7 separate regions of the Homo sapiens genome follow, and regions 2, 3, 4, 5, 6 and 7 are each linked to region 1. Evidence: promoter capture Hi-C in 16 types of primary human blood cells and fetal thymus (Javierre and others, 2016). All regions are on one chromosome and are shown on one strand. The core of a region is centred on a gene start or on the middle of the fragment in contact, and the rest is flanking DNA. Distances in the headings are between cores, read along the strand shown.

Evidence for each region. The method cuts DNA at HindIII sites, captures the fragments that hold promoters and counts their contacts. A CHiCAGO score of 5 or more calls a contact.
Region 2: a fragment that was not itself captured here is called in contact with the fragment with the promoter of CD83 in region 1 in 1 of 17 cell types (naive B cells); the score reaches 5.7 in naive B cells.
Region 3: a fragment that was not itself captured here is called in contact with the fragment with the promoter of CD83 in region 1 in 1 of 17 cell types (fetal thymus); the score reaches 5.3 in fetal thymus.
Region 4: a fragment that was not itself captured here is called in contact with the fragment with the promoter of CD83 in region 1 in 1 of 17 cell types (naive B cells); the score reaches 5.6 in naive B cells.
Region 5: a fragment that was not itself captured here is called in contact with the fragment with the promoter of CD83 in region 1 in 2 of 17 cell types (naive B cells and fetal thymus); the score reaches 5.9 in naive B cells.
Region 6: a contact is called between a fragment that was not itself captured here and the fragment with the promoter of CD83 in region 1, in 1 of 17 cell types (fetal thymus). The highest score is 8.9, in fetal thymus.
Region 7: a fragment that was not itself captured here is called in contact with the fragment with the promoter of CD83 in region 1 in 5 of 17 cell types (fetal thymus, total B cells, total CD8 T cells and 2 more); the score reaches 9.3 in fetal thymus.

What each region holds. Positions count from the first base shown.
Region 1 is chr6:14,116,522-14,119,117 of GRCh38, reverse strand. It overlaps CD83 (CD83 molecule), which reads right to left and starts at 1,346. Exons shown (of 5, transcript NM_004233.4): 1 at 1,270-1,346; 2 at 1,053-1,168. The coding sequence starts at 1,306. RefSeq lists cis regulatory regions at 49-549, 17-843, 414-914, 1,080-1,735, 919-1,735 and 1 more and silencers at 1,479-1,598, 1,726-2,020. The HindIII fragment of the contact is 8,136 bases long and covers 1-2,596 here.
Region 2 is chr6:15,657,770-15,660,365 of GRCh38, reverse strand. All of the region lies in intron 1 of DTNBP1 (dystrobrevin binding protein 1), which reads left to right. Among named protein-coding and RNA genes, the nearest start is that of DTNBP1, 4.0 kb to the left of the region's middle. The HindIII fragment of the contact is 1,779 bases long and covers 403-2,181 here.
Region 3 is chr6:15,601,761-15,604,356 of GRCh38, reverse strand. All of the region lies in intron 6 of DTNBP1 (dystrobrevin binding protein 1), which reads left to right. Among named protein-coding and RNA genes, the nearest start is that of DTNBP1-AS1, 57 kb to the right of the region's middle. The HindIII fragment of the contact is 189 bases long and covers 1,204-1,392 here.
Region 4 is chr6:15,442,921-15,445,516 of GRCh38, reverse strand. The region is part of intron 3 of JARID2 (jumonji and AT-rich interaction domain containing 2); the gene reads right to left. Among named protein-coding and RNA genes, the nearest start is that of DTNBP1-AS1, 100 kb to the left of the region's middle. RefSeq lists an enhancer at 493-993. The HindIII fragment of the contact is 913 bases long and covers 864-1,776 here.
Region 5 is chr6:15,419,146-15,421,741 of GRCh38, reverse strand. All of the region lies in intron 3 of JARID2 (jumonji and AT-rich interaction domain containing 2), which reads right to left. Among named protein-coding and RNA genes, the nearest start is that of DTNBP1-AS1, 130 kb to the left of the region's middle. The HindIII fragment of the contact is 2,522 bases long and covers 34-2,555 here.
Region 6 is chr6:15,267,029-15,269,624 of GRCh38, reverse strand. All of the region lies in intron 1 of JARID2 (jumonji and AT-rich interaction domain containing 2), which reads right to left. Among named protein-coding and RNA genes, the nearest start is that of JARID2-AS1, 20 kb to the right of the region's middle. RefSeq lists enhancers at 25-582, 583-1,141, 1,142-1,699, 1,700-2,258. The HindIII fragment of the contact is 168 bases long and covers 1,215-1,382 here.
Region 7 is chr6:15,248,490-15,251,085 of GRCh38, reverse strand. The region is part of intron 1 of JARID2 (jumonji and AT-rich interaction domain containing 2); the gene reads right to left. JARID2-AS1 (JARID2 antisense RNA 1) reads left to right here and starts at 2,390. Exons shown (of 2, transcript NR_120502.1): 1 at 2,390-2,576. RefSeq lists an enhancer at 1,135-1,976 and a silencer at 2,165-2,596. The HindIII fragment of the contact is 915 bases long and covers 856-1,770 here.

The DNA.
Region 1 (2,596 bases), core at 97-2,596:
GAACTGACCATCCAGTTAGGAGACACACACACAAAGAGATCACCGCAATGATGCCTTGTACTGTTAAGTGGCCAAAGACGTACAGTTTCTTATAGTATCTTTTATGGTGGGCAGAAGAACGCCCTGCATTTTGGGGAAAGCTACAAGTGCAGAGATTTGCCCCCGTGGTAAGACAGCAAATCAGTGAGAGCTACAGAGTAAGGTTGTAATATCATATTCATTTGGGTTAAAATGGAGGTGCTGTGGTAGCAGTGGCCTGACTTAAAGAAGGACCAGTGATATCAAACAGTAGCTGCTTGGCTTTGGAATGACACCATCATTGCCATCTTAGAATCTGAGAATGTTTCAGTCAAGAGGAAACCTTGAAAAAGCCTCCTTGTCACTCAGTCCACTTACAGTAGGAGCAGCAAGGCCTGTTCTTACACATGCGGGCTCCGGCTCATGCATCCACCTGATGCTCTCAAGGCTGCCAGAGGAAGGAGGAGGAGGGCTAGGGGAGGAAGCCAAGGGTATCCCACAAAGGAGATGACCACTGATAACTACCATGGATGAAATGGCCTAAGTCACTTCTGTGTCTTAGCCTTTCCTTTCAAATTGCCCCCTCCCCCTCCCATGTATCATGGGCATCACAGTCACAAAACACAAGAAATCAGAAGTCTGGAGACATTCCCCCTGTCCAATGCCCAAATCTAGGTCCCTGTTGCTTTCTTCCTGACCTGCTGGCCCACAACCACAGGTGGCCTCCAGAATTAATCCAAATGAGAGTCTCTGCCCTTCCAAAACATCTTAAGTGGATCATTCATCTCAGGCCACCTTCAGTGACAGGAAGGGGATTGAGGTCTGCGGAGAGCAAAACCTAATTCGGCCCTGTACCTGGATGCGGATGGGGTGGGGGAGGCGCGACGGGAGGCTGGGTACTCCAAGTTCAGCTGCGGGAGACGCCCCTCGCCCCCACCTGGCAGCCACAGAGGGTCGCCAGCCTAGGGGAGATGGTTCCTGCTGTCTTCAAATGAGCCCACCAAACCCCAGCCCGTGGGTATCGCAGCACCTACCTTGACCCAGGAGACCGTGTAGGGAACCTGCGGATCCCAGGGGGCGGTGCAGGGCAAGTCCACATCTTCGGAGCAAGCCACCTTCACCTCCGGCGTCGCGGGAGCCAGGCTGTAGGCTACAAGAAAGAGAGAGCGCGTCGTGAGCAAGCGACCGACGGGAGGGGGTGTCGTGGAGGGGCGGGGGGCGACAGGCGAGACAGGCGCTCGCGAGCCCTACCGCAGCTCAGGAGCAGAAGCTGGAGGCCGCGCGACATGGCTGGAGCGCTGCGCCGCTGCCACGAGCTGCAGAGCTGTGGCGCGCGGGCGCCGGCTGCCCTTTTATGCCCGCGCGTTCGGGAACTTCCCTGCGCGCCAGCCCGGGGGATTCCCCGGCGGGCAGCGGAAGCGGGTGGCGCGCCCTCCTAGTCCCGCTTAGGCCGGGGCGCCCCCGTCCCCGCCCCCTTCGCCCCCGTCCCCGCCCCCGTCCCCGCCCCCGTCGCACCCGCCGCCCTCGCCGCGTGCGCGTCCCCGCCCCCGCGCGCCCGGGCCGGGCGCCCCGAGTTCGCGTCGCTGCTGCGGCTGGCAGCGGCGACAGCAATCCCCGCGTGACGCCCAGCGCTGGGGGCTTTGCAGACCGCGCTCGCGCGCGTGACGCTGCCGTTGACCCGCAAAAGGAAGCCGGGAACCGGGCCATCCGAGCGGGATCTGCCCATTTTACGGAGGCCAAACCAGATTCCGAGAGGGTGGGCAACTTCCTCAGAAGCCCAGCCTGTCCTTGGGAACGCACTGGTGAACCCAAGTCCTCACTCTTCTCCAGAATCTGTGATAATCAAAGGCGCGTTAGATTTCCATGGAAACATACAAGTCTGTAGTACTTGGCTCCCTGCCTTCCCCGGGAGGTTATCAGTCAGTACCGTCCTGTTTAAATTATATCACCAAAGGAGAGTGTCTCCTATTAAAATAATAATTACACGCATACACAACATTTTTGGAAAAGAAAATTCTAGAAGACAATGAAATCACCTGTAATTCATCCAGGAAGTAACTTCAGTTAACATTTTTTTATATTATAAAATGTTTATAACATAACATAACGTAAAATATTTATAACATTTGTCAGTGCACAGATTGGTATTTTTAATGGTTTATTCTTCCTGCTATCTTGTAACCTACTTTCTTTTAGCTTAATAATTTGCAAGCGGTTCCACATCATTAAAAACTTCCAACAGCATCATTTTGGTCCATTGTTCAGTTGCACCATAAATTAGAATCGATTAGTGTTAGACATACAGGTTGTTTCTTTTTGTATTACTAATATTAGAAACAATACTGTGATTGCTATGGGAAACTTCAGTGTAGATAAATCTTTGCTCTAAAATTGCTTATTTTCTTAGAATAAATACCTCAAGGAAATTGTGCTAGGTGAAGGGGAGTTTCCAATTTTGTCAAATATTGCCAAAAAATTACCTGCAAGGAGGTGTCTTCAATCTATATTCCCATCTGCAAAGAGAGTGCCTGTTTGCCAACACAAACTGTTATCCAACCTTTCTATCTTTGTCCATCCA
Region 2 (2,596 bases), core at 43-2,542, 1.5 Mb before region 1:
TTTAAGCTGTTCGGTTAAACTTTTCCATATTCAGCTTGAGATCAACCTCCTTTACATAACTGATTATTTTTGCCTTGAGGAGAAAAGATGACGCTAAACACAGCACACATGTGTTTATTATATGTTGGTAATGTGGAATTCAAAGATGAAAGAGACGTGAGCTGCATCACTAAAAAAGAAACATATTACATAAATGCAATGCTGATATCATAGATAATAAAATTAACACTAATTTTTTGATATTATCAATTATGCAGTCCATAATCAGATTTGTTTTGTGCTTAGAAATGACTTTTTACAGTTGGTTTGTTCAAATCCAGATCAGATAAGTTTCACACATTAAATCTGTTTAAAAACCAATTTTTAAAACAGACGACTGTTAAAGGGCCACATGGGGAAGCTTTATGGAATCTTCCAACAATTTTGTTGTCCCAGCTACTTGGGAGGCTGAGGCAGGAGGATCCCTTGAGCCCAGGAGTTCAAGACTGGGCAACACAAAGAAACCCCATCTTTTGGCTGGGTGCGGTGGCTCACACCTGTAATCCCAGCACTTTGGGAGCCCGAAGCAGGCGGATCATGAGGTCAGGAGTTCAAGACCAGCTTGGCCAACGTGGTGAAACCCCGTCTCCACTAAAAAATACAAAAATTAGCTGGCCATGGTGGCGTGCGTCTGTAATTCCAGCTACTTGGAAGGCTGAGGCAGAAGAATCTCTTGAATCCAGGAGGTGGAGGTTGCAGTGAGCCGAGATCACACCACTGCACTCCAGACTGGGTGACAGAGGGAGACTCCGTCTCAAAAAAAAAAAAAAAGAAAGAAACCCCATCTCTTAAAAAAGAAAGAAAAAATGAAAAAACATGGCCCTGGCCACCCAGAGCTATCACATTGGACCTGGCGTTTCTGTAGAACACTTGGTGGCAGAGCAATTGTGTGGAAGCCAGAGCAGCTGCCTTCTAAAATAATTGGAAACACCGGGTGTGCAGGCTGCCCCAGGGATGGAATGGAAGGCCTCAGGCATTTCTGGGCTCCTTCAGTGCAGCCAGTGCAGCTCCCGCTGTCGCCCAGAGCAGCATCCTCTCTTCGGAGCTTCTGTGATCATTTTCACTTTCTGAAAACTCATATGAAGGCCCTAACTCTAGATAAATTTACTTTTTTTCATTTTTAGTAAAATAGAACGATTCCTTATCAGTCTCAGAATGTCACTTTGGTGATGAAACCATGTCCAATAAGAATAAATTTCTACATTCCATTCAAACTTTGAAAAAGTGCAGCTTAAGACCATTGTTCTTTAAGGGCAGTGTAGAGATTACTGGTGGTTTGGGGGGAGCTCTAGGTTGTCCATGGACTTATGGCCTTTTTTGTAAATTTTTATGCGTAGTAACAATTATGTCAACCTTGAGAAAAACTAGTGATTACATCACATTCTTCCTGCCTTAATTGGGTGGTGGGCCAGCCTTAGGCCACAGACTGAAGAGGATTGGTTCTGAGCTTCACTCAAAGATCTTTTCCCCTCACCTAAAGTGAGTTGTAATTTGATTTAACTGAGTCAGAATTCTTGGAGCCTTTTGGAGAGTTCACATAAAATATCCATTTTTACAGAGATTGGCTTGAGCTCTGGGGAAGACTTTTGGACATACCAAAGTACATACTTCGAAGCCACTCTGGTCTTTGACTTTTACCTTTTGAGCTGTTACGACCAAAGGCCTCAGGATTGAGGTATTTAGGCATGCAAACCCTTCAGGGAACTGAAAATCAGATTTACTGACGGGTTTACAGCTGCCTGTCACAGGCTGGTGTTTCCTATTTGTGATGCACTGGGTTCCTGTGGTTGGGGATAAAAAAACCTGCTATTGTTGCAGCTAGAGGGTGTTTCCCCCTCAAAGCCCTCACTGCCCCTGCCGCCCACCTGCACCCCTGCCCAGTGTCCTCATTCTGTCTTCTTCCGTCCTTGTAGTATCTACCAAAACCTACACAAAGGGGGTTGGAGCCAGTCATCTAAATTACAATGTGGTCAAATGGTGAAGTGTTGCTTGAAATGTTGACTTTTCCGGGATTAATCATCATCTTAAAGAGAAAATAATCTCAGTATTCAACTTGATTTCATAAATATCTACAGAGTTCCTATTAAGTGCCAGTGCCAGACATTAGACTAGGCACTCAAAGTGTCCTTTTTCATAGAAGCTTAAAAAAGATTTGAGAGCCCATATGCTCAGGTTTGCCTAGTCTTTCCTAAACAATGTCTATATATTGGGCCAGATCCTGCAGGTACAAAGGTGTCTAAAACAGTCTCTGTCCACCAGATGCCCTAGACTGGTGCTGATATAAAGCAAAGCAGAATGAACAGAATGTTAAAGATACAAATAGTGTGGTATGTGAGTCCGAAGAAAGAGTCATTAGTTAGGATGCATTTACAGAAGGCTTCAAAGAGGAAGGGGTTTCTAAAACTAGGCCTTGAATAATGAGGAGAAATTGCGATAGATTTGGATAAGCACATTTCAGAGATGGAAGCAGTCCTGGGAGATGAAGCTGGAAAGGAAGTTTAGTGCCTAATAATAGAATATCTTCAATGCTTTGCTTAATTAATTTGTCAAATATTTA
Region 3 (2,596 bases), core at 49-2,548, 1.5 Mb before region 1:
TGCAGCAGAAGTCTGTTTGGATGCTGAATGAAAAGGGGAGCAGGAGAACTTTTCCGCAGGCAATGACTTTACAAAAAGGGAGCAGACTTCTGCATCCACCAGGATGGAGTAACAGGGACCAGATTTATTCTCTCCCCCGAAACAATGAAAAACCAGGTGAAATAAATGAGAGAATGTTTTTAAGACACTGGATTTTGGACAAAGAAGAGATGTGATGGTACCCGATAGATAGGAAACAAGTGAGGTGAGCCCTGTGATTGCCTCTGCATCCTGCCTAGAGAGAGTTTCCAGGGTGCACTGCAGGGAAGTGGACCCAGGCAGAGCCTGGCAGACTCAGAGTTGAAGAGCTAAATCTGGGGAGATCAAGGCAGCTGGAGTTTACAGGACATAGTCCCAGAGAGGAGAGAGTTTCTGAGAGGGTCTCCATGAATATTCACCTGATAATACAGGTGAGGAAACTATCCAAGGCAGGAGGGAAAAAAATATCCAAGAGGGTGAGCTAACAGTGCCTGGCACTCACACAGAGCCTCTTCCCAATAGTCGGACTGGGAAAACTCATAATTACTGAGGTATTGGGAAGTGGACTCGGTGAATTCTTGCCTCAGTAGGATGTGTAATTGGCTTTTGTCTGAATACTGCTGAAGACGTGCTTAGCAAATCATAAAGCAAGCATCAGAAGAATCAAGCTGTTTCCAAGTAAATTAACTGTATAACAAACAAAGCTCAAGAGTATTTATAGGAATATAAAAATACCTAGCACCAAACAAGATAAATCACAATGTCTGGTATCTAATCAAAGATTACTAGGAAAACATATGGAGGAAGATAGTCAATCAAAGCCATTAAAAACTGACACAGATATTAGAATTAGAAGACAAGGACAGTAAAAATTGTTATTGTAACTGTATTCTGTTCAAAAAGTGAAGTAGAGACATGGAAAATATAAAAAAGGCTGAAACTTGTATCTCTTTTCTCCATTTTCTCCTTTTACTCCCCCCTCTCCCTATTAGATGCTAGATTTTAGATGGTTCCCAGGTGGTTAATTGAAAGTAAATTGACATTTTTATTTTATTGTATTTATTATAATGTAATCACATTTACTAGGCCAATGACCTCTTGAAAACAGACTGAGAGCTATGAATTTGTTGGCTTCATAAATGTGTAATCACACCTTACATTTTCTTTTAAAATTAAACCTAAGCTTATGAGTTGGCAAGGAATTGAACTTAACAAAATTTTTGCTCTAAAGTGTCTGTTAGAGAATAAATCTTGGCAGTTTCAGACTTTATGTGTAGTCACGAGAACAGATGTAGCTAGAATATTTAACAGTTTATTAGATCCTTGGGTTGACAGTAAATAGAGTTTAGGACTGATATTTAAGTTCATAAAGCTTTATTTTGAACAATGAGTATCTGTTTGCCATTTTTAAATAATAAATGTCTCTCTAACTGGTTTACAAAATTCTTTTCGTTATCTCTTTCCTCCAGTTATGCAAATGACACGCTGGGGTTCAAGCTTTTTGTTTTTAAGAGGCATGAAAACCTAAAGTGTATCTTTGAGGTGGAGAGGAGCAGAGACTAAAGATATAGCAATCTCGAGAAAAGTTTTTTGAAATTAAGCAAAGCAAAATTATTATTATCCTGGGTTGAAAAGTAGGTAATCCTTTTTTCCAAAGTTAGATTGATTATAGTTTGTACATTATAATTTAGAGTCTGTAATAACTTTCAGTGTTTTAGAATTCATTTATTACATTTGGAATAATATTTTATGTTTTTTATGACCCATAGTTGTGTTGGAGTTTATGTTCCATCAGTTACTGTGTTTTTCAAAGATACTTTCAAAAGTATAAAATTTATCAGTTATTTTAGTCTTCAGTTGAATGTAGCTAAAACCATGATATTACCCTATGCTTTTCTCACTTTTCTGGTTTTCTTGACGGATATGAGAGCTGGGACAGGCAGAGGCACACCTGGCAGCCTGCCATACCTGCTCTGACATCGGTGGTAAGCAAGAACCATGGTGAAGTCAGCAACAAGAAAACAGTGCTCCTCCTCTCTGCTGCAGCCCTTCTCTACCCTCTCTGGGCAGTGCTCTAGCATGGCTGTGTTGGCCCCGTTTTTTCTATGGCTAAGAAGCAGGTCTCTTTTTCTTGCCTGCCTTTTACTATTACTAGTCTTTCATTCTGGCTCAGAAAAAAAAATGGCACTATAATTGTTTCAAAGGAATTGAAACAATTGCTACTGGAGATAGTTTTTTGTTTTGTTTTGTTTTGTTTTCAGACAGGGTTTTGGTATATTGCTCAAGAGGTCCTCCTGCCTCAGCCTCCCAAGTAGCTGGGATTACAGGTTTGAATTATTGTGCCCGGCTAATGCTACTGGAGAGGTTTGATACTGGATTTCAAAGAGGGACATTTTCCCCCAAAGATAGCAACATTTTCCTTCCTCTCTGGAAGTTTCATGTTATGTTCTGTTTAGGACCCTTTTTTTTTTTTTCTTTTTCTTTTTTTATTTTGAGATGGAATTTTGCTCTTGTTGTCCAGGCTGGAGTGCAATGGCGTGATCTCAGCTCACCACAACCTCTGCCTCCAGGTCCAAGT
Region 4 (2,596 bases), core at 71-2,570, 1.3 Mb before region 1:
ACATGGAAGGTGACTTTCTTTTTCTGCTAAGCCTCCCACAGCCACCTCTCACTTGCTGTTAGGTATCACCGCTTAAAAATTTACCAAAATCAATCTTCATTGTTTGTTGTTAAAATAAAATATATAGCACCTTTATGAGAACGAAGGAGCACAGCAAGATACACACTAACATTATTTGGAAAGTTAACCAATAAATCACGAGACCATGCTTGTAAAGAAACCCCAGGGATGAACTAACAGTCCTATGCCAAATACTTTTTTCTTTTGTAATACCCTCCCTGTGCCCCTTCCTCCCCAAATGATTGATTTAGAAGCTTCCTGGGCATCCTGCCATTAGAAGCTTCACACAAGGGTGGCACTGTTTCTCCAGGTTTCCTCTGGGGTCATCAACAGTGTAGAGTTAACCAGCTTATTGCTATCTGTGCACTCAATCTCTAGGGTAGCCCTGACTGCGGCACAACAGCAATTTCCAGGTTAATTAAATCCTATTTCTGTCCAGGATTTCTGATAGCCTGCAAACCCAAGAAGGGCATGGCGTGACACACAAATCAGCTGGATCAAGCAGGAGCAAGGGGGACCAGGCGGCTTAAAGTGAATGCACAGCTGTTCCCTTGCTGAGGGAAGTACATGCCAAAACATCATTTTATTAACTCAATTTTCCAATATTAAAAACGTAAGCTGGTAAATCCAATTATTTAGATTACATCCCAATTCTAAACAAAGGGCAAGGAAAGGGTGGGAGGGAGGGTCTGTTCATTCAAAAAAAAAAAAAAAAAAAAAATCAGACAGTTCGTGTCTGGCAAATGCAAAATGACCGGCATGGCTGCGCTCTTTGTGCCGGTGTGGGAGCTGGCCCTGAAGCTTTGCCAACTTGCTGAAAGGCCTATTCAAAAAAAAAAAAAATTTCCTGTGTTTCCATCCCCAAAATAATTACCCACTCCATTCGCCCCCCAGACACACACACTACAAACCTGGCAGCCACTCAAAGAAACAAGAGTGTGCCCGTGTGTGTGCGCACTGGAGGTTGTGGGGGGTCGGGCAAGGGATACCCTCTACCCAGGGCAAGCTGCCCACCAAATTCAAATGCAAGTGCGGTTGCGAGCAAACCACACAGAATGGTTGTAAACATCCTGAACAGTAAAGAGAAAATAAACACATCCTCAAGTGAACCCAGAGGCTAGCAGAGACCAATTCATAGCAAACTCTGTAATGAGAGGCACTAGCATAGACCATATCCTTCTAAGCGCAAGGTCCACCCAGTTCCCACAGTTTTAAACGGTCAGGGTTTGATTTACCAGAATGGGAGGGCATCACACAATGACAAAACGGGAGGTCAGCTGGCTCTGTAAGCAGAGTTATCCTACGCAGAATGCCTGCTTTATGGTACTTCTGGAGATGGAGCCCTAGTGGTCCACAGCCTCATTTCTTGCTTTACACATAAACTGATGGAACACTTTGTTTATGCAAAAAACCGCAGGATATTAAATATTTGCAGCACTTGTCTTAATTAAGTTACATAGGAAGCTATTTAGAATAAACATTTGCCATAGCCGGAATTTGCGTAAAGAAATCTTTTGTTAGTTGAATTCCCCTCAAGATGAAACATTATGATGTTTTGCTTGGTCAGTGGTACAAGCAAAAGAGTAGTGGTGTCACAAAACCTGAGTTTAGTTCACCTAACTTGTCACCTAGGGCAAGCTGGGTCTTTTTTTCTTAGGTGGTTTTTTTAAGGACTATTTTAAAAAGGGAAGCTAAGGCTCTCTCTAGCTCCAAGCTTCTGTGATCTTTGACCTCCTCTTAAAAAAACAAGTGGTACCTGAATGTAGTAATTTCTGTAATAAATCTTTTGGATCTATCATTTCGTAAGAGTAGATGAAAAGTCCTGATTATTTTGGAGAAGTAAAATCTAAATCTCCAAACTGTCAGTATTGCTAAAGATTTCTAGCGCCAACTTTCTAACTGCCAGTAAAACAGCAAAATATACTGACTTTTAAAGTGCTAGTACTACCACCTAGCACTTTAGAAGGTGGAGGGGAAGGTGAAAAATTCATTCATATATATTTTAGAAAGATATCACAATTCCAAAAATCCACTCCCCTACTCCCTTAAAGATTAAATAGTAGCAATACAATCTGTAATCTGCATTTCCTTCCACTTAGCCCTTCCAATGAGGAGTAACTCATTTAGGCAACACGTTAACTTACTTCAGAACTGTGAGTCACCCTTAGGAACGCTGACATAACTACTTAAAAATATATTCATCAGCTCTATCCATGAAGAAGCCAGCCCAAGGACAAGGCAAGCCTTGCAAATCCAAACATCACCACCACATCAGGAAGACACCATTCTTGCTCGCAGACACTTCACTCCCTTGGAATACTAAAGTGGAAAACAGGCATCAGAGAGAAAGGTGAATCTTTTTTTTTTTTAATTCCAGGGAAGGATTAGGGGGGTAGGAAAGAGGAGGAAAAAAATTAAAAAATCGAAGATAATAGCACTAAATATCTACAAGATATGAACTTTTTCCCAAATAAAACATGACTTGGTGCATATAAATCTCAGGTAGCTGGTGACATCCTGCACAAACAGTATGAAA
Region 5 (2,596 bases), core at 45-2,544, 1.3 Mb before region 1:
TGGCAAAGTCCAGGCATTATAGATGTGAAAGCTTAGATCCAAATCCTATTAACTCAGCTGCCAAGTGAGGGTGGTAAAACCTTAAAAACAGGTATTTCAAAAGAATTAAGGTAAAAATTTTTAGCACAATATTATCTAGGCTAAGGTCAGTTCTTCCTAACGGAAGAGACAGATTACATAGCTTCAAAGAAGGACTTCTAATAGTCACAGGCTTTATTATGGAATGGAGTTTACTATTTTTATTATAGGCCGAATGCTTATGTTTATTAATTTTGAATTTTTTTTCTTGGAGTCAGGGCTTACTTACGCTGTTCACCTTTTTTTTTTTTTAAAGACTAACAAAACTAAATGAAAAGCTATGACCGTGGCTAGTTCCATTTCCTGATGGTACGTGTCTCTCTCACACTCTCATTCAACATTCAAAGAACAGAAAGAACTTCCGCTTTTAGTGAAGCTAGACAGGATTTATACCTCTTGCCTGTCTGAAAGAACTAAAAATCCACACAAAACAACGGCCACCATATAGCAACATACTGTGATCCCTGACGGATGGAAAACAAATGATCCCTCCAGCTCACTGCCCTGAGAGAATGTCCAGGCTGCAGCAGTTACGGAAAGGGCAAGCAGAGCCGGGGTTGAGAAACACAAGGGGAGGCCAAGGTGATATAATGTGTAAGGCAGAGCACAGCAGAGGCCAGAGCCACACAGACAACAATGGAATCTGCCAAAGGCGCTCCTCATGTCTTCCGCTGAGTACTAACAAGCACATTTGTGTTAGGAAGCTACCCAAGAGAAAGTATTTCCAGAAAGGATTAGCAGGAACAGTATCCAAATTGTAAAAGCACCAGGAATAGTGCCCATTCTTACTAGCCTACATGGTAAACATAATCCATAGGACATCAAGTAAAATACTCGTAAGGGTTTTTGCCTGAGTAGCAGGGAAACAATGCCTCACAGTAAACACTGCTTTGGCCCTACCTAACCATGCTTGAAACCAAGATCCAAACAGATCAAACTGTTCCCTAATAATCAGATCTCAGAACAATGCTCAAGAATATGTAGAGAAATACGAACATTTCCCACAGCCAGAGAAAAATTTAGTGTCTGTCAAGTAATAAAAAGCTACCAGACATGCAAAGATGCAGGAAAATATGACTGATGAGGAGGAAGATTAATCAATCAAAACTGTTTTGTAAATAATGGAAGACAAAAATAGCACATATACTCAAATATCTCTTGTAACTGTACTCCACATGTTCAAGAAACACCAAAGAATAAGCATATTACTAGAGACACTGAAGATTATGGAAAGACCAAAATCTAACTTCTTTTTTTTTTTTTTATGGAGTCTTGCTCTGTCACCCAGGCTGTAGTGCAGTGGTGTGATCTTGGCTCACTGCAACCTCCGCCTCCTGGGTTCAAGCAATTCTCCTGCCTCAGCCTCCTGAGTAGCTGGGATTACAGATGCGCACCACCACGCCCAGCTAATTTTTGTATTTTTAGTAGAGACAGGGTTTCACCATGTTGGCCAGGAAGGTCTTGAACTCCTGACCTGGTGATCCACCCGCCTCGGCCTCCCGAAGTGCTAGGATTACAGGCGTGCCCAGCTGTAACTTCTAAAATATAATAACAATGTCTGAGATAAAAGATATATTCAATAGTCTTACCAGCAGATTTAGGGTATAAACTATCTAAAATGCAACATACAGATCAAAAAAGGAACAAAACACATGAGCTATGGGACAACTTCAGAGTAATATATATGAAAATTAGGTCCCCAAAGGGGAGACGAATGCACACGAAAATATTTGAAATAATAATGGCTCTAATTTTTCCATAGTAAATGAAATCTACAAACCTAATACACTCAATGAATCTCAAACTCTGGAAATAAAAACTGCCAAGGCACATCGTATCAAATTGCCTAAAACCAGTAAGGGATTCAAAAGAAAATTGTGGTAAATGATTGCTCCTACAAAGCTATGAAAATAACAACAGGATTCTCATCAGAAATGATGCACATCGGGACAGTGGGGCAGTGTCACTGAAGTACTGATGGTGAATGACTATTAACCTAAAATTTTATACCCAGCAAAAATATCTATAAGAAATGAAGGTGTATTTTGTATAACTGCATGTAATTCTACAATTATCATAAAAGTATTTTTTTAATGTGGGTGAAATGAGATCTTCCCAGACATACAAAAGCTGAATGATCAACAGCAGACCTAATGTTAGAAATGTTAAAATCCTTCAAGCAAAAGCAAATGCAAATGATACTAGAAACAAAAATGGCAACTACGTAGATAACTTGAAACAGAAGATAGGCGAGATTTACCCATATTTACTTTATATTTACTTCCACATCTTTTGTGTTCAAAACTGCCACATCATAATCTATTACTCAATTTTTCTTTACTTTCTGTAGTAGAGAGTACATTTCACCCATGATAACTCTAAAGTTGAAAATTAAACTAGTACTTCTCTTATTTATAAAATATATCTCCAGGTTGTAAGAACAAAATAAACTCCAAATAACCTGATCAGTGGAAGCTTCTAAATATAAATCAAGGGTTAAGAGAAATGTTAAGCCTTT
Region 6 (2,596 bases), core at 49-2,548, 1.2 Mb before region 1:
AACCTGGGAAACAATGCTAGACCCCATCTCTACCAAAAAAAAAAAAAAAAAATTTTAAAATAGCCATCTCTACAAAAAAAAATTAAAAATTAGCCAAGTGTGGTGTCATGCACCTGTGGTCCCAGCTACTAGGGGGTGGGGCAGGGAAGGCAGGAGGATCTCTTGAGCCCAAGAGTTCAAGGATGCAGTAATAAGCTGTGATCACACCACCACACGCCAGCCTGGGCAACAGACCCTGTCTCTTAAAATAAAATGTAAAAAATGCTGAAGGTTCAAATACTATTGAAAGATTAAAAATCCAACTTTAGGAGGCAGTTATCGAGTCAGAAACTTCTTTCCGCCCCCCCCAACAAGAATGCTCACAGCCCAGTGGCCTGGTCTAGGGACTAAGGGTGGAGCACAGGGAACAGGGCACTCAGATTAGGAGGTTTTACAGAGGCCTGGGAGGAGACAGAAAGCTATTTAACGGTTTTCCTCCTCCCTCAAGAAAGGGGCAACTACCTCACCACTGGCAAGCATTTTGAGGCCACCAAAGACATGATGGTTCAGCACATCTTTTGATAAATTCTAGGACATTCCCCAAGCACACACCAGACAAGTAGGCCTTTAAATTTCCTAACGAGAAACAGGCACTGGCATTTCCTACCTTGCCTGCCATGGGCACACGCACACGCCTGACTTTAAGAGGTTTAACAAAAGAGTTAGAGCCCCGAACTTCCTTGACTTTAATTAAACTTGGCTTCCACTTCTGAAAAATCCTGAAGTTTTTATTTTGTTCTGTAGTCTCACTAATGCTTTTAAATGAGAGATGCTGTGAAAAGGAAAAGCAAATTCTTTGCAGCTGCGTGTGAGCATTCTGCCAACTGAAGCACAGGAAGAAGCTCTCCCATGTTAAAAATTTCCAACTGGGAGATTTACAAAACAGCAGGGGAGGATGGATGGGGCAGAGGGAGACGTGTGCATGTGAAAGAGCTGCAAAAAGCTCCCTTTTTTGTGTTCAAGTCCCAGAGGCCTTCGGAGGCTTGTCATGCTTCAGCGATTGCCACCCCCTCCCATTTTACACCCCTTCCAAAGCCACCGTCCTTTCCATCCAGGCTTTCGGATATAAGTACACATTCTGCAGAACCACTTCTTAGCTGTTCCTTTATTTTACCCCCATCTCCCCAGGCCGCCCCAACACTCATTCTGCCATAACTGGATAATGGAAAGAAGCTTAACAGGGAGGTAGCAACCATTTCCCTCTGACTAAATGAAGTCCTGGCGTTAAGCTGCACTCCTCAGGAGGAAATGACAAGCATTTTGGCAAATGAACTTTTTTGTTTTCTATTAGCAGCAGCAAGATATCCACTGTTGACAACAGCAAAAGTTCACAAAGATAAGCTTCTAGGCTGTGTTTTTAAAGCTCTTCGGAAAATCTAGCTCTACCCTTACGAAAAGCCAATTTGGTCAAAAATGCTGTCAGAAGGGTTTGGAGGTTTGGTTTTAAATTTCCATATTAAGTGATGGGGTTTGGTCTTTTCAGAGAAGGAAAGAGTCACCACACTATCACAATTTCTAGGAAGCAGGCATGCACATTAGGTATGGTGTCCCACTGTCGTCCATCACCTATCCCCTGTTCTGGGGTGTGGGGTTGTCCATACTATTAACCGATCCCCGCCGCAGTTAAGCCTTAGGAGTTGCAACCCCACAGCATCCTCGGGGGCTGCTGATGTACACTTCATGGAACCAACTTTCTTCTTACTAAATCCTCCGCTGAATGCAGTTTTTTCTCAGGGCCCCAAGCAACACAAACACATCCTCAGGAGTGCAGGTAAAATATAAACCCTCTGGGGATCAGCATGCACACCACCCAAAAACCCCCTACTGCATATCTACAGAGGTGCACAGTAACAAAGCACTGGCAGACAGACAGGAAGCACTCCATAAGGTCCTCGGGAACGCAACCATTGAGTTCGCGCGTCACACCGGACTTCTGAAGACAGGACAGCCAAAAAATATCCTTCATAAGGAGTTAATGCCATGGCTTGAAACAGTCAACCAGAAAATTCACTAGAACCAGCTTACTCCATTCCCAGAGCATTCAGAGTCTGTCTACATGTTACTATAATTTGAAACCTGATTCTAAGAACATCCTTGTACCTAGGCCATTTCACAACTGATGCTCTTGCAGAAGGTATCGGTTCCCTCCTGGGCACCTACTGCTGTTTATAACCAGTTGGTTAGGCTTCAGGATCCTTTCCTGGTGGTTGCTGACATGCCTTTTGCTGCCCCTCAAGCAGATCTTTGAGCTATCTCTATGTAGATAAAAGGAAAGGCCTCACTCTGTCTTATGTCAGATACTGATAAGCCGCTTTAAGATTTTCTTTTTCATGGGAGTGGGAGAATAGTTTAGGAGAGTAAGAGAATAACACTCCAGGAAGCCCAGGGTCTCTTTGGACACTGTGTTCAGAGTTTCAGAGTGTTGAATTCACCATCTCTCCCCACAGCCAAAGAAGACAACTTAACTGTTTGCCATCCAGTAAGTTGCAATATGTCAGCATTAACCCAAACCCTCGATCACGCAGCTAGAAGCAATACTAATATACAGGTGGAAGAG
Region 7 (2,596 bases), core at 64-2,563, 1.1 Mb before region 1:
GAGGAACCACTGCGTTCCAGCCTGGGTGGCTGAGCAAGACCCTGTCTCAAAAAAAAAAGGAAACAAAAAAACAAATGCTCTCTAGGTTAGCCTTCACCAAGTGTTTTAACGAACTACGCTTTTAATATGACATTCTCGTGTCTTCTCTGAAAAAAAAAAAAAAGTTCCATTTTGAAGGTAACAGACACCAATTATATACTCCAAAAGATTGTCTTGTTCTGAAGGAGGAAAGTTTAACATTTGGAGTACGGTATATATTAACACTGGAGTTATTTCCAAGGCACTTGGAAGTGCGTCAATAGCCTTCAGCCCAGCAACAGGGACTGGTTTAACCCACTATGAGGAAACAGGCATTACCGAGTACCAAATAATTCTAGTTGTCTATTTGGGCCAGTGGCTACAGGGACACACAAGTTAGGTATTAGCCTACTGTAAAATAATATAACCTGGATAATAAACCAAGTTGGATTACTTGTCGACATAATTTTTCTTTCAAATTTTAGTGACACTTTGGACTTCATTGTGTCTTCCTTCCATACTGTCCCTGTACAGTGATAGGAGCTAAACTGCCACTGCCCTGCACCTAAGTAACACAGAGCAAGATTTTCCACTACTAGAAACAAGTAACTGAAAAGCCACGTAAACATCCCAGGAAAGAAAAAATACAGCAATAAAATAACGTGCAAATTTCCCCACCACCCCACCAACTGTAAAATAACGTGACTGAACAATTTGTGATGAATAAGTTTTAAAACAAAAAACCTCATAAATCCAACCACTGTATATTTTGTGTTCTTCCTACTTTTTTCTTTGTAATTTTACGTAGTTGTAATTATAGTAAATCCTTTTGAAGCTTATAACAAAAACTTTTTCCAATTTTTAAATCATACACTTTCAAATCAGAAAATTAGATACTTAAAACTTACAGCCTAGTGGTACAAATTCTGCTTGAGCTGTCCTAGAAAATCAAACTGGCAATTTGTTTTCATGCTAACTACAGGAATTACTATCTTCATAAGGCAGAGATTCTCTATTTCAAACTGATACCTGATCAAATAGTGGTGAAGCCCCAGTATCCTATCTGTTATTCTCCCTAGGAATAACCAGGCAGTGGAATGATGGAAACGGCAGAAAATATCTCTAGAGCAAAACATGCAACTGTTTTTATTGTCCAAGTCGATTGGGGCTTTCAAAGGCAAATGTTTTCAGTTATTTAAGGTATTGCAGTGGGAGTCGTGCTCAACACAATTAAGACAGGATTACACTGCAACTTATGAGTTTCTCAAGGACATCATTTATTACGAAATATAACAATCATTTCTCCCAAAGCCTACTATCGACAATCGCACCCCCAACTCTGCTTTGCTAAGGTAATAAACTAAATGGCAACTCAGCAGGCATCCCGGGCTTTTGAGACCAATTGTGGGAAACGTGCTGCCTTCCACCAGCTCAAGTAATAATGCCACCTTACTTATAAAGAGGCATACTGTTTTACATCTTCCATGCACATGATCTTTTCAGTGACTTAGTTAAGTGGCAATGGCAGGTATTTTTCCATTTTACAAAAGAGAAAACAGAACGCCAGCCTCTGGTTTCCCTGCTCAGAAGAACTAAGCCCAGAGCACCTTGAGACTTAAAGGAGTCCTGTGCTCTTCTCAGTACATTTATCAATGACAAGTCTTCCTTTGGTCCAGCCCCCCAAAATAACAGTCAGTAGGTACAGAGCCGGCACAGCAAAGGAAAGCCCCCCCACCGTAGTACCACAAAGCTTCCAGAAAGAGCAACAGTTGCTGCTGTGCAGCATCATCATGAAAGGCATCCGGCCACATCCTGCTGAAGCACCCCTAACACGACTTCAAGTGACAAGGTGGCCAAATCCACAACGCGGTCCTCCAACAAAGCACAGCTTTCCCTGAATACTTTCATTTCTTTACATAAGCACTGGAGAGGGGACACATGCACCACGCTAGTAATGCAACACCATCAGGAGACCTGGAACAGAGGAAGTGAAAACATTCCTGCAGAAAGGAGGCGCCTCCTCCCCGCTCCCCGCTTCCCAAGTGGCATCAGAACAGGGTCCAGTGGCACTCCTTTGGGGACCTACGGCTCCCCGGCCCTCACCTGGTGGGAAGCGCGACGCTCCGGAGCGGAAGGCAGAGGCCGAGCGCATCTTCCTCCTCTTCCTCCTCCCACGCCGCAGCCCGGCTCTGCGGCAGCCCCCGCCCCCGCCCAGCTCCCTCCTCCCCCCGCCGCCCCGCCGCGCCTGGAGCCTCCCGCCCGACTTTTGACGTCACGGAGGAGGAGGGGAAGGTTCCACCCGAGCCCGTCCCTTTGTGACGTCACAATGACAACAGAGTGCGGCCGGGAGCGTCGGGGAACCGAGCGCCGCGGGGGGCGGAGGGAGGGAAGAAGGGCTGGGGCGCCGGCGCGCGGCGGGGGAAGAACCGGGGGGCGGAGAGGGGGCGCGCTGACGTCTCGCCGGCTTAACCTGTTGCTCTCGAGACTGCGTCGGAGCCCGCAGGCAGGGCCGCGGGAAGCCGGCCGGGCCGCCGCCGCCATGCTCGGCCGTGTGCGCGGTGGGGGGCGCCCGCTGCAG